Regions from separate parts of the Homo sapiens genome. Here regions 1 and 3 are each linked to region 2. Evidence: promoter capture Hi-C in human tissues and cell types (Jung and others, 2019). All regions are on one chromosome and are shown on one strand. The core of a region is centred on a gene start or on the middle of the fragment in contact, and the rest is flanking DNA. Distances in the headings are between cores, read along the strand shown.

Region 1 (4,327 bases), core at 1,804-4,303, 1.0 Mb before region 2:
TGTGAGAAAATGTTAAGAAAAAAAATATGTGGGAAAGAAACCAAAGTCTCACCTAAGTACCCAGAAAGATCAGCAAGTTTCTCCTCATTTCTAGGATGAACAGAGGAAGACAAGTGAGCCACACTTTACTCTAGCTGCCCCTGTTGACATTTTTGGCCTGTTAATTAGGAAGAAATGTCTAATGGTGTTTAGGAAGGTGGTTTAAACAACAACAACAAACAAACAAAACCAAAGAAAGACAGTTCATCAAATTCATATACTACACAGACACCACCAGGCTTTCTAGAATTTTTATTAAAAATTACAGACATCATAGCAATAATTCTCAGATACCACCTCCTCTACTAACAAAACCTTCTTTCATGGCTCCATAGAGAGGCCAGAAACTAATTCTCCCACACCTGCATAAATCTACAAAGGGCTCCCTCCCTGGGCTTCTGACAGTCTCCACTCCAGCTCCTGGATTAGAGAGCAGTGTCTGAATATATTTATAGAGTCTATATAGATTGTTGCTTTAAGCAAGACTATTAATATGCCAGAACTCCGAGTTCCCAAACTTATTCAATTATCAATTTGTTGTACATAATTTAATCTCTCTGTATTTTGATATGCAAAATGGAAAATGCACTGCTGATACTTCACAGGGTGAAAAGGAGATAACCACCAAGACCATTATAAAGCTTGCTGGGGGAAAATCAGGAGCTTATGTAAATGTCTATTAATTAAACAGTCACGGCTGCACAACTAGGTCAGGCATGATGATAAGACTGAACAACCCACCCCAGCCACCAGCCTCAAGAAGAAGAAATGAACATTTAGTCCTAATAGCACTTGTTGCGTTTTATAAAGAGTCTTAAATTGTAATATTCCCTAACACAACAAGAGTAGCATCTTTCAGACCATCCTCAAATAATTCTTTGATAGAACATAAACTTATTAGAGTCAACAGCCAAAAACAAAACAAAAAAGCAAGCCAATTACTAATGAAGAACTTGTAAAAAGCTAATCAAAGCTCTCATCCAGAGAAAATGAGAAAATCTGAGGCTCAGAATGATTTTGTATATTGATGAGATTTTATATAGCGTCATAGAGAGAAAAATAAAACAGATTTAAGTGAATACAAAAAGGATTCCAAGTCTCTATTTAAAAGCCTTGTTATGTTCCAAGTCAATGTTTTCATTAAAATGTTTTGTTCCAGTAAAAACATCCACTTTAAAAAAATGCCTGACAGGAGGTGCTGTCAGTAGAGGATACTGTCAATTTCTCTGTCTCTCTAGTCAAACCCCTGCAAGTGCAGAAGGGCAGAAAGAAGAATGTTTATTCGGCCCTCACCTGAGGGTGACAGTGTGGTGGATAATGGAGAATAGAGGACCACAATCATTTTTCTCCATGTCAATGGAAAAAACAATTATTTTGTTTGTTTGTTTTGAGAATAAAAAACCTAGTCCAAAGATATAGAGAAGAATCCCAAGAAGGATGTCAGATTAAAGATAAAGAGACAGAGAAGAAAACAGTGGGAGTAAAGTCTGAGGAGAAGTAAGCAATACAAAAGCAGAGCAGATTTCTCAGTGTGATCCCAGGACCATCAGAATCATTTGGGGTTGCTTGTTGACCATGTCATTTCCTGGAACCCACTCCAAATCTGTGATCAACTCCCAAGGCAATGCTCATGCTCACTAAAGATTGAGCACCACCTGCTTCCCTAGGGGAAAAGGCTAGCTTTCTCCAGCATGAATAGAGGAAAGGAAAGAAGAGAGTCATAATGATAGCTGATTCCAGAAGGAAACACAAGGCACGTGGTTTCTGACAGCACCCTCCCCGCCACTGCAAAATAGGAGGCACACCCATCCCCTAGGAGTCTGTGCAGATCAGGTAATTCACGTGTGTGATGCATACTCCAGGGGCGTGCCAGGAAAGCAGAGAGAAGAACTGATGGGCGTAATTAAAGTGGAACAGCACAAACATACTATGGGCTACAAATTACATGTTTATAATTAGTTTAAATTATAAATGCTGCATTTTTCTCCAGTAATACTTTGTTGTCAAAAAAGAATGCAGGAAAGAATTAGGCAGCAAAGCACCTAATGTGTGGGTGATAAGCTTATCAGGGAAGGTGAGTCTGAGCTAGACTGGGTATTCCCTCTAAAAGGGAATCACACAAACAAGTGTATGAACTGAACATTTACTAGGATTCTCCCTAAATTCTAATAATAATACTAAGAGGTTGACATATAATTATTGTAAAGATAAGGAAACTGGGGTTTAGAGATGCCAATTAACTTGCCCAAGGTCATTTAACTTGGAGGTTTGATTTCAAAGTCCCTGATTTACTTTCCAAATCTTTTCAGAGCTAGCGTGACCTTCAAATATACACAGAGGAAATGACACTCAATTTCTAGCATGTCTCTCTACCTGTCCCTTTCCTGAGGTAGTCTGGGGTGTGAGATGCACACATGGGCAATGGGGTTCAAGGTACGAATCTAGGGCAGGGTTTTACGGATGAGCCCAGCAGTGGTCCTGCACACCAGGTACCCTAAGCCCTGCTTCTGCAGGGTGGGCCCTGATACCTGCTCAGTGCTGAGGGCTGTGGGAAACAGAGCAGATGAAGGGTCTCTCCCCCAATATGCTACTTTAGTTTAAGGACTATTTTGAGCTAAAGGTAATTCAAACGCAGCAAATTCAGAAAGAGCTCTTTACCCTCCCCCATCTGCCTAAAAGTATGACATAAACTTCTCTTTGTGAAGGTGTTCCCCTCCCGTCTCCCATACCTGGAACAGATCATCCAGGTATCACCGGACACAGAATGTTGGCACTGAGATGGGTCTGCACAAACAAATCTTACTAAAATCGCCCTTATCTTCCATTAGTTTCTCCTCATATTTACATTCTTATAATCTGTGCCCCTGGAAGCCCAAATCCCTTTTGCTTCCTCTTGTGACTTCTCCACAAATGTATCACCCTTTGTTAAAATGGTGTATAAGCTGCAGGGTCTAACTGCTCCTCTGAGTCTCCATGCCTTTTCTGTAAGGGCACGTAAAAACTAAAATGTTAAATCAAGTAAAATTTGTATGGCTTTTCTCCTGCTAATCTGTTTTTTGTCAATTTAATTTGCAGGCCCTAGGCAGTCAATTAGAGGGTAGACAGAAAAGTTTTTTTTCTCTCCCCTATATAGTAAGAAAGTTGGGGACAGAGAGATGACAGGTAAGGAAGTTGAGGGCAGAGGGGCCTGGGCCTTCTCTGGAACTGCTCTATGTTAACTGCAAAATGATGGAGCATCTGTACCTGGAATTCAAACATGGCACTGGTTCATTTAACTTAGAAGGTCCATGAGGGATAGTCCCATGGGCTGGCAATGCCATCATGTGATTATGGGTTCAAACTCTCACTCTTTCGTTTAAAGCAGTGATGATTAAGATGCTGTAAGAGGGTAAACAAGACCTCAGAGGCACATTTTAAAATTGGAGCCACACAAATATAATATAAACGAAGGAACAATATATTCCTGGGATAATCAGAAGTCAGAAATTTTTATTTTTCAGTTTAAATTAACAGATAATAGACTGCTTCTGGGTTATTAAAGGAAGAAATGTGTTGAAAGGGCAATTCGTTAGTCATTTTTAGGCTCAGATCAGAACATTGGTGATGGTGTCAGACAGTAGAGGTACAGGTTCAGTCAGGTATAACATAGGTGTCTAATGTGATAGGAAAAATATTATCTAGTTAGATGTTACACAAGTGACTGAAAAACTAGAAAGTGAATGTATAAAATGAAGAAAATATACCTGAAAAATACTACCAAAACAAGTGATATATTTCCTAATTAGTCTTATGTAAAGACATCAGCCCTAATTCTTTTTGTATATTTTTAATACTTTCAAAGTCATATTTTAAACCTGAAGAAGAACATTTCAGGCAGAAAGATATAAGAGTAAAGACCATTAGAAGGGAGTGAACTAGATGTGTTCAAGAGCAGAAAGGAGGCTGTAAGGCTGGAATATTGGGAGAGAGAGAAGACAGCAGAAACCCTGAAGCTAGAAAGGAAGGCAGAGTCCAGTGGCTTGATAGCCCTGGGGAGAGAAGGAAGCTGCCCTCCTGCACTTACTTTAAATACAACAGAAAGTTTTAAGTGCTTTATGACAGAATCTGTTATTCACTTAAAAAAAAATGTTGGCTGCTGGGTGGAGAATGAAGACAAGAAGAGAAAAGAAAGCAAAAGAGGCAGGAAGGAAGCTACCATGAAAGCTACTGTATCAAGAAAGAAGGGGCTTGATTAGGGTGAAGACAGTAAAGATGGAGAAAAATAAATGGATTTGAGATATATTGGTGA
Region 2 (4,327 bases), core at 350-2,849:
CCAGAATGCTTGACACAGACTCTACGTGGCTTCCTTTGGGAAGACAAATGGAGCCTGCTGTAGGCTATGGCAGAGATGGAGGCCCAGGGCCTCTGAGCTAGGGGCAAAGTCAGTCTCCCTCCTGTGTCTGAAACCCCAGGACTCCCCATTCTGTATGGTACTCCCCCCGACCCAACCCACAGTTTCCTTAGGAAAACTGACCTGCCTATGGCCCATTTCCTAATGATATGATTTGGTCATGAGGCTGGCAGAGTCCATGGGGTGCATGTGGCACTCCTGTGCTTTGCTGTGACAGTGCCTTAACCCACAGGCGTGATTAACTCCAAAGTCTGGGGTCTTTGGAAAAGGTGCCTATCAATGCAGAGGAAGTGAAGTGCTCAGACCGCCAAACAAGGCCAAGAGCCTCCCGGAAGAGCCTGCCTGTCAGGAAGTCTCTGGCCACATGCTGTGGCCATGCTCGCCTCTATGAGAGGACAGAGAGAACAGACCAAGGACACGAGTTCAGAACAGAGAAAATGTGAGAGCCGTAGACAGGAAAAGCAGCCCTTCTGGAAACAGCACACTGGTGTACCTAGCGTAACCTTGTCCTGAGGGCCACTAACTGCCCCTCACTTGACTCAGCTGACACTGTGAGGGGTCACGAGCCTGGCAACACTTTCTGGAAGGTCTAAAGGGCAGCACTGAGGAGACCTAAAGGTTTTGGTCTGTTTGTCAAATGTCACTCTTCCTCACATTCGGAGGAGAGCATTTGAAGGCAGACCACTCTAGGGGCAAGAACAGGACTGATTTTAACCCCGGGACAACCAACCAAGCAAGCAAGCTAGTGAAGAACAGGCCTCTGCCCAGGTGAAACACGTGGGGCCAATTCCATAGGTTTTTTTTTTTTTTTTTTTTTTTTTAATTAACCTCCGGTGGGAAAGGTAAGGATGGTGGGGAGGGGAGACGGTTACTTGTCTCATTATCAATGTGTTAGTATTAGTGACGGCAAAACTGAATCTCTAGCAATACTATTTGCCCGTTTAAACTGGGCCTGGCTATTGGGCTTATGAGCAAATAGCTTCTCAAAATTTTAATTTTCTAGTTAGTTCATCCCAAGTCACTGATTTACATGTCTTTTGAGACTGAGACTGCTGGGGAAAAACATTCCCAGAAATGAGTGGATTAGACTCTGTGAATTACAAGGGAAAGACACTTTAAGTTTAAAGTTGTCCCAAACTTAGCGTCAAAATACAGCCTTTAGATTTTTTTTTCCATCGAGAAAAATTCCTGATTCACTACCAAAAAGAGGCCCTGCAGGCAGCGTGCTGATTTGTTCTGCTCCTGGTGCTGAGCTGCCCCCACCTGTGTGCAGGGAGGAGGGGTCGCTTCGGCCAAGGGCGGGAGCTCTGCTGGCTTTAGCGAGTCACCATTGCCTCCTCGCAGTCAGCGTCCTAACGGGGTCCCCGTCTACAGCCCGGCATCCACTCCTCCAAGGCCCTTCACACTGGCTCTAGCCATGACCCCTCTTTGGAGGAATAAAGCAGAGTTTCACGGACTCACCGACCTTGAAGCCGGAGCCTCCCACGTCCTGCTGAGCGCACACAGCCAAGAAGTGTATGCAGGGCGAGCTGGTCGGGCCGGCCTGGAAATCCTCCCTGGCGGGGCGGGGCCAGAGGACCTCACCAATCCCAGCGTAGACCTCCGGGCGCACCGGCCCCCACAGCTGTACCCTTGAAGGCAGGCCCGTGGGCGCTGGGCCCTTTATAGCACCTGCCCTTTCTCTGAAACGTAAAAGGCGGAGCCAGTCTTGCTTCCCAGGCCTGGTCCTGGAGGCTCCTTTGCCAGGGCTCTGGATCTCAGAATGGAAGGGCCAGCAGGTGAAATTGCACATCTGTTGGGGGATTTGTTTCTCTCTTCTCTCAGGTGTACCAGCCTTGGGGCCCTGGTGAGCTCTGGAGGATGAACCCCTCAAGCCAAGGTCGGAGAGGAGGATGTCTCAAGCTGCCTGGCTCCAGCAGCTGACCGGGCCCTGAGCCAGGGGCTGGAGGGACCTCCTTCCAGCGTCTTTGTCTGGGACCTGGATCCAGGGACAATTACAGTCAGGTTTCTGTTCAAGATCAGGCCCCCTGCAGTAGATGGCTAGATCATCTCGCTTTCTGTCCACACCAGCTTAACCCACGGCAGGCCATAGCCCTGCTTAAAAATAGCCCCGCTTGGGATATCCACCGCACGCCGGGAAGGCTGCCTGTAAATAGCAATGACCCAGCAGGATTTTGGACAGCAGCCCTGCCATTTCAAGGGAGCCTGCCTAGGCATCTGGTGACCGTCACGTACTCAGCTTCTGAGGCCACGTGGACATGACCAATTGGTTCCTGTCTCTTCCTTCTCAGAGCCCAGCTCATGCTCAGAGGACTTGATGGAGCAAGGGGTGGAGCCCCAGGAATAACCTTCTACCCAGTGTGGTTCTCCTTCATTCTCTGAAGGAGTTTCCATTTCTTTTAAACACGACCCATGTTTAAAAATATCATCTATTTTACCTTTGCATGGGGTACTGACAGGGAGAGCACGTGAGGGGGCCTTTTGGCGGGATGGGAAGTTTCCTGATTGGGGTGGTTATATAAAGATTGGGACCAATCAAATTAATTTCATAATCCTTTAAGGAGTCAAGACCCACCAGCTTGCATATTCTATCATCAGGGCAGTCTCGGTTTATTCCTTCTCAAAATAGCTCTTTTCCACACACACTTGTTTCAAGTCAGTTCAGGCACCAACTGAAATAAATCCATTGACCCTGAAATAGCCCAGCTCCCAGATCCAGAAAATTATAAGGCTTTTAAAGAGCATGGAATTGTAGATTTAAAGAATGGCAGTTATAGCAAAAACCTCCTTTTCCTCCCCAATTGCCTAATCAACATTTAGGGCCCCCTCCACTCACCCGACCTCAACACCTTATATTTTATAGAGTAAATGTTTATGTTAGTAAGGTCAGAAGAAAAATTGGGTCATTGTTGAGAAAAGAGGGTACCACCCTTCTTTTGGGGGACTGGTCCTCTTCAAGCTTATTATAAAGGTGGTGTGATGGGGATGAAATCTCTACAAGGGACTCACAGTAGAAATTCTGGCTTTCTGGAAATCTTTCAAATGCCATCCCTGTCACATGGCATCTATTCCCTTCTCATCGTTACCAACTCCTTTTGAAGCTCTGGGGCTCTAGCCACACCAGGCTGCCCTGTGGCTGGCTTCTGCCATAAGGGCAGGAACAGAATTGAAGTGTGCGACTGCCATATCATTTGCTTTAAAGGAAAATGTCCTGGACTTATTCTCTTTTCTGTTCCTGAGTCCAGCAGGAGTGTGGCTAGAGCAGGCCCCAGATTTGACCTCGAAGGCAAGGATGACGCCTTGTGGGATGAGCAAGTAATAGGATGAAAGGAACCTGGGTTCCTCTGTCGCACCAGCCTGGATTGCTCATTTCAGAATTGGGCAGGAGGGACCCCTTTCCTTAGTCTATTCTTGTGTCCAGCAACTGTAACTTAATTCCATCAGCTCTAAATGTTGCCACAACTTCATAGAAGTTAAAGTATTTTCATATATAGTAATCCATATAACCACTGCAGTTATTTTAGGGGTAGACAGGAGTCTTATTTCAGAAGCCCCTCCTAGGTGGAGCCTGGTGACTATTAGGCCAGGACTCTACCCTGGCGGCTTCTCCTCTCTCCACCACCCATTCAGGAGCGTTGAGCTGCTGTGCAATGGACTGAGCTGTTCCAGGTAGTAGTGAGTTCTCTGTGCCTGGAGGTATCAAATATAGGCTGGGGATGTCACAGGAAGAATCTAAGCACTGCAAAGAAAGTGTGATTAGTTGATCCTTCGTATCATTTCAAAGCTTTCCCCAAATTCTTTGAATTTTAGGGCCTCTTCTAAACTGTTTTTCTCCCTGAACTTTAGAAGTAATATTTAGAAGTAAATAATATATCTGAAGGAGTTCACTGCTATGAAGAAGATGTAAAATAAAAATAAAGCCCCTAGGCCCCCAAGCAAAACAAAACAGACTCATTGTGGTAAAAAGAGACCCCAGGAAACATTAAAAACCAGATTCTACAGCTTTGGCAAGGCAAGAGGTCAGTCACACCCAACGCTCTCCCACCTCGATAACTGCCTCAAGACTTTCTTTCCTAAAATTAAACTAAAACCAGTTACTGAAAAACTATGTCTGGAAGATTTCTTCCTCAACTTCAACAGACAACCTGACGTGGCGAACCCCCCCTTCCCTCAACGCAGTTTCCCCCTGACAAGTGTTCAGCCTTACAAAGCACTCCATCCTCATAACTGACCACAGACCACAGCCGGT
Region 3 (4,294 bases), core at 1,691-4,190, 1.0 Mb before region 2:
GCAGCTAAAAGCTCATAGTGACTAAGGATGGTGAGTAATGAAGGGAGCACTGATTGGGGTCTGTGGTGGTCAGAGGTGGCTTTGTGACAGTGAATCACCAACACCAGGGTGGGAATTGGGTAGACCTGTGGGGAAGGAAGCACTTCCAGGTGGGCACCAGCATAAGCAACAGTCAGCTAAGGGTGTGAAGGAAAAGACTCCCCAGATCAGAGAGCGCTTGGCACTGGGGAGGGCTCAGACATACAATGAGGTGGAGAGGAGTAGGGATGCTAGTGTCGCTGAAGGAGCAGGTCATTATCCACTGTCACCCCTCACTCCATGTCTCACTGCCTTGGTTAAAGCACATTCAGTTTTATGTATCATTTTGATCTTCTCTATGCCCTTGTCAGGTAAGCAGCATAGATACTGTGGGCTTTATTTTTCAGAAATAGTTTAAGAAGGAAATAAGAAAATTGGCCCAAGTCACACAGCTAGCAGTTAACCAGCCTCACAGTTTAGATCTCTGGACTTCTATTTCACAGACCTAAAAATTCACGGTTGTCGCAAAAGACACATAGCTGAATTTCCCTATTTTACAAATAAAGAAACTGAGGACCACAGAGGTGAAGAAATTTTTCCAAGGTCACACAGAAGCAGAATTTAGGAGGTGAGCTGGAAGCGACTTTACCCAGCCTTATTTCTGATAGATGTTGTACATTATTTGAGGAAGCAGGGAGAAAAAATCCTCATATTGCCGAGAAAGAACAGTTACTTCAACAAAACCAAATATCTTCTAATGTTTAATAACTGTCAGGATAACATTCTGTTAGCATAACTGCATTTATAAAAATGGAAATTGTTATCAACCAAAAATTAGAAGTTTTTTAAGTGAAAAAAATTCTAGAAAGAAATCAAGCTGCTTGAGGAGATGGATCTATCTGGGAAGAAAGGCCTCCCCAGTCTACAGGAGCTCCTTGGAACTTTTTTCTGCCACTGATGAATTTTTAGGTCTTTGTTGATCAGAGAAAAAGTTGTATTTTTAACTTTTTTTAAAAAAAACTAAACATTGGCTCCAAACTGATAGACTCTCATCTCAGAATCTGTTAGCAAAGGATAACTAATGTTTGCAGACAAGAACACCATTCAGATGACACATTATTATAATTTATTTTACACTAGAAATGACATGGCTTGAGAAATGACTTGCTGAGAAATCTGTGTTTACATTAGGGAGATTGGGGGGAAAATCCCTCACAGAAGTTGAAAACATGCTAAGTGGTAAATACCAAAATGCCCAGCAAGCATTTAAGCCGGCTCTCATCCTAGCATGAATATGGGCAGCTCAGCATTTTAAAATTTACTTTTAGCTTTTCTAGCAGTTTGAATTAACCCTTTCTCTACTTCCACTTTCTCTGTGAGAGTTCAGCTCTTAATCTGCAGACGTGGACTGAGGGTGCTGTCACGGTGCTCGGTGATCCACTGGTGAATGATGTCCTCACCTGAAGCAGTTTCCTACAAGTGGGCTGCCTTGTGTACATGTCTCCTAAGCTTCCTTACTATCCATGTAAGGCCTAGACAAACATTAGGAAGCAAGTTCAGCTTGTATGGATTGGAAAAGGCCTGTCAGTAGAGCAAAACAATACAAATCAATGTCACAATAAAGGTATATCCAGACCAGAGGTTCTCCAGAGCAGAATCACCCCCAGAGAGACTGTGTCAGGTGGCCCCAGCATCTGTAGCTGTAAACGATCCTCAGGTGATTTTAAGTATATCCCTCATTCAAAGACACACTAATCTAGACTCTCTAAAAAGCCAATGACATTTTAATCTTCGTTTCAGCTCCTAGCAAATGAAAGCAAAAAACAAAACAAGCAACCAAAAAAAAAATTGTTCCAGGTTAGGTTTATCTTAATACTTAACTGGCTATGAAACTTATTTACAGCCTTAGTGAATACCAATTATATACAAGAAAGGTGAGCATTTAATGAATATTCGTATAATACTTTACAATATCTTATCATGCATTAATGATCTCATGTGGTTCTCACAGCAACCCTATGAGGTAGCTTGTTAGTTTCAAATTAAAGATGAGGAAAATAAGTCTCAGGGACATGAAGACTCGCTCAAGAGCCCTCAAAGAGTACAGCAGAGCAGCTGTGGGGTTGAGAAGCAGAGGGGTAAAATGACCATTGTTTTATTACTATAGGTCAAAAAGAAATTTTAATGTTTAAATATCTCCTATAGCTTTTTAGAAAACTTCTAATTACTATGCCACACTTTGCTGGTAAAACATATTATCTCACAGTAAAATATTGTGTTTTTTCTTTGTTTTACAACTATCTACACAAACACCCACACATACACACACACACACACACACACTCACACTCACTCTCTCTCTCTCTTTTGGAGTAAAACAGAAATAATCTATTGTTCCTGAGTTTGATTGTGGGAAAATCACTTAAGATAGGTCATGTTTATAACACCAGTTTCAGGGACAGGTAAATCCAGTAATTTAATTTTTATATATCTTACATTAAAATGAACACACAAATACATTTCTCCCTCAATCTCCATGTCAGACAAATGGAAGTGAAGTACTTGGCCTAGAAAAGAATAACCTGCAAGTGCCCTAATAATGTTGGTATTCCTAGTATTAATAAGTTAGATTTGTTTTTTTGCTATTTATAGTGATGTGTCTTTTTTTTTTTTTTTTTTTCCCCGAGACAGTGTCTGGCTCTGTCACCCAGGCTGGACTGCAGTGGCACAGTCTCAGCTCACTGCAACCTCTGCCTCCTGGGTTAAAGCCAACCTCCCACCTCAGCCTCCTGGGGAGCTGGGACTACAGGAACACACCACCATAAACAGGCAAATTTTTGTATTTTTTTGTACCGACAGGGTTTCACCATGTTGCCCAGGCTGGTCTCGAACTCCCAGGATCAAGTGATGCTCCCACCTTGGCCTCCCAAAGTGCTTGGATTACAGGTGTGAGCCACCATGCCTGGCCATGATGTATCCCTTTGAAGTGTTTCTTCTAAACATTCAGCCTATCAAACACCAGTTGCTGTAGACATTTGTGTCCAAGGGAAAAATAATCCATGTCACATCTTGGTGAGATGAAATATTCCATGGTATCAGTCCTATTAAAGCCAGGGCTGGCCAGGTAAACTCTTGGCATTCTTCGTGCCGCAATTCCTAAACTCAATAGAAGAATCTGAAGAACATAAAACAAAAGCCAAGAGAATAAAAGAAAAATAACTGAGCAGTAAAGACTTATTTAAGAATATCAGTACTAAAATAAAACTATCCATTCCTGTCACTGAGTGCATGCTACTTACAGCAAAGTAAAATATTTCCTGAATTGGTGGCCCCCAACCTTTTTGGCACCAGGCACCAGTTTCAGGGAAAACCATTTTCACAGACCGAATGGGAGATGGTTTCAGGATGAAACTGTTCCACCTCAGATCATCAGGCATTGGTTAGAATCTCATAAGGAGCGCGCAACCTAGGTCCCTCAGATGCGCAGTTCACAATAGGGTTCACATTCCTATGCAGATCCAATGCTGCAGCTGATCTGATAGGAGGAAGAGCTCAGGTGGTAATGCTCGCTTGCTTGCCCACCCAGCTGCCGCTCACCTCCTGCTGTGAGGCCTGGTTCCGGTCCATGGCCTGGGATTTGGGGATCCCTGTCCTAAATAACTTGGTAGGGGACTGATTGGAAAACTAAAAATTAAGTCAGGGTTTGCCCACTAAAGATGAAAGCAAATTTTGCATTTGGTGGGATGAGTCTAAATGCAATGGAGACATTGATCTTTGTAACGGCAAAACATTAAATCCAGGCTTTTCTTTTACCTTGTTAAGGGACATTTCGTTCATCCTGAGACGTTGCTTTGGCATAACTCAGAGGTAGATTCAGCCCAACAACTGGCCCTACAATGCTCAGCCATGATGTGATATAGTTGACATTCCTAGGAAACAAGTGAAATACAGGCCATGCTAACGTTTCCATTGTAGTTTTTGGATGAATGGTAGAACATCAGTTGGTCACCAACAATAACAAAAGTGAGGCTTTCTTCAAAGATTTGTACCTACCACCTGGAATCTCAGCATTTCTGAATGCCAGCCCCATTGCTTGACAAGAATTTAAGGTCCAGAGAGCCTGTAAGGATCCCTCATTAGGGTAGTTGAAGAATGAGGTAAGGTACTGGCTCCTGACTTCCCTTGATGATTCAAATTTTACCCTTACAGTTTACAGCACTTACTAAGGTAGCAGAGTGCAGTGATTAAGAGCATGGTTCTGAGGCCAAAATGCTTA

The links. Contacts are between HindIII fragments. The study calls those that stand out against the background at their distance.
Region 1: a contact is called between a fragment that was not itself captured here and the fragment with the promoter of CKMT2 in region 2, in 1 of the 25 tissues and cell types used here (lymphoblastoid cells).
Region 3: a fragment that was not itself captured here is called in contact with the fragment with the promoter of CKMT2 in region 2 in 1 of the 25 tissues and cell types used here (spleen).

The regions. Positions count from the first base shown.
Region 1 is chr5:82,232,601-82,236,927 of GRCh38, reverse strand. The region is part of intron 5 of ATG10 (autophagy related 10); the gene reads right to left. Among named protein-coding and RNA genes, the nearest start is that of RPS23, 44 kb to the left of the region's middle. The HindIII fragment of the contact is 3,326 bases long and covers 1,391-4,327 here.
Region 2 is chr5:81,230,594-81,234,920 of GRCh38, reverse strand. It overlaps CKMT2 (creatine kinase, mitochondrial 2), which reads right to left and starts at 1,599. Exons shown (of 10, transcript NM_001099735.2): 1 at 1,544-1,599. The HindIII fragment of the contact is 7,118 bases long and covers 1-3,450 here.
Region 3 is chr5:82,252,967-82,257,260 of GRCh38, reverse strand. ATG10 (autophagy related 10) reads right to left here. Exons shown (of 8, transcript NM_031482.5): 7 at 3,832-3,947; 8 at 1,128-3,193. The coding sequence ends at 3,836. Among named protein-coding and RNA genes, the nearest start is that of RPS23, 23 kb to the left of the region's middle. The HindIII fragment of the contact is 4,949 bases long and covers 466-4,294 here.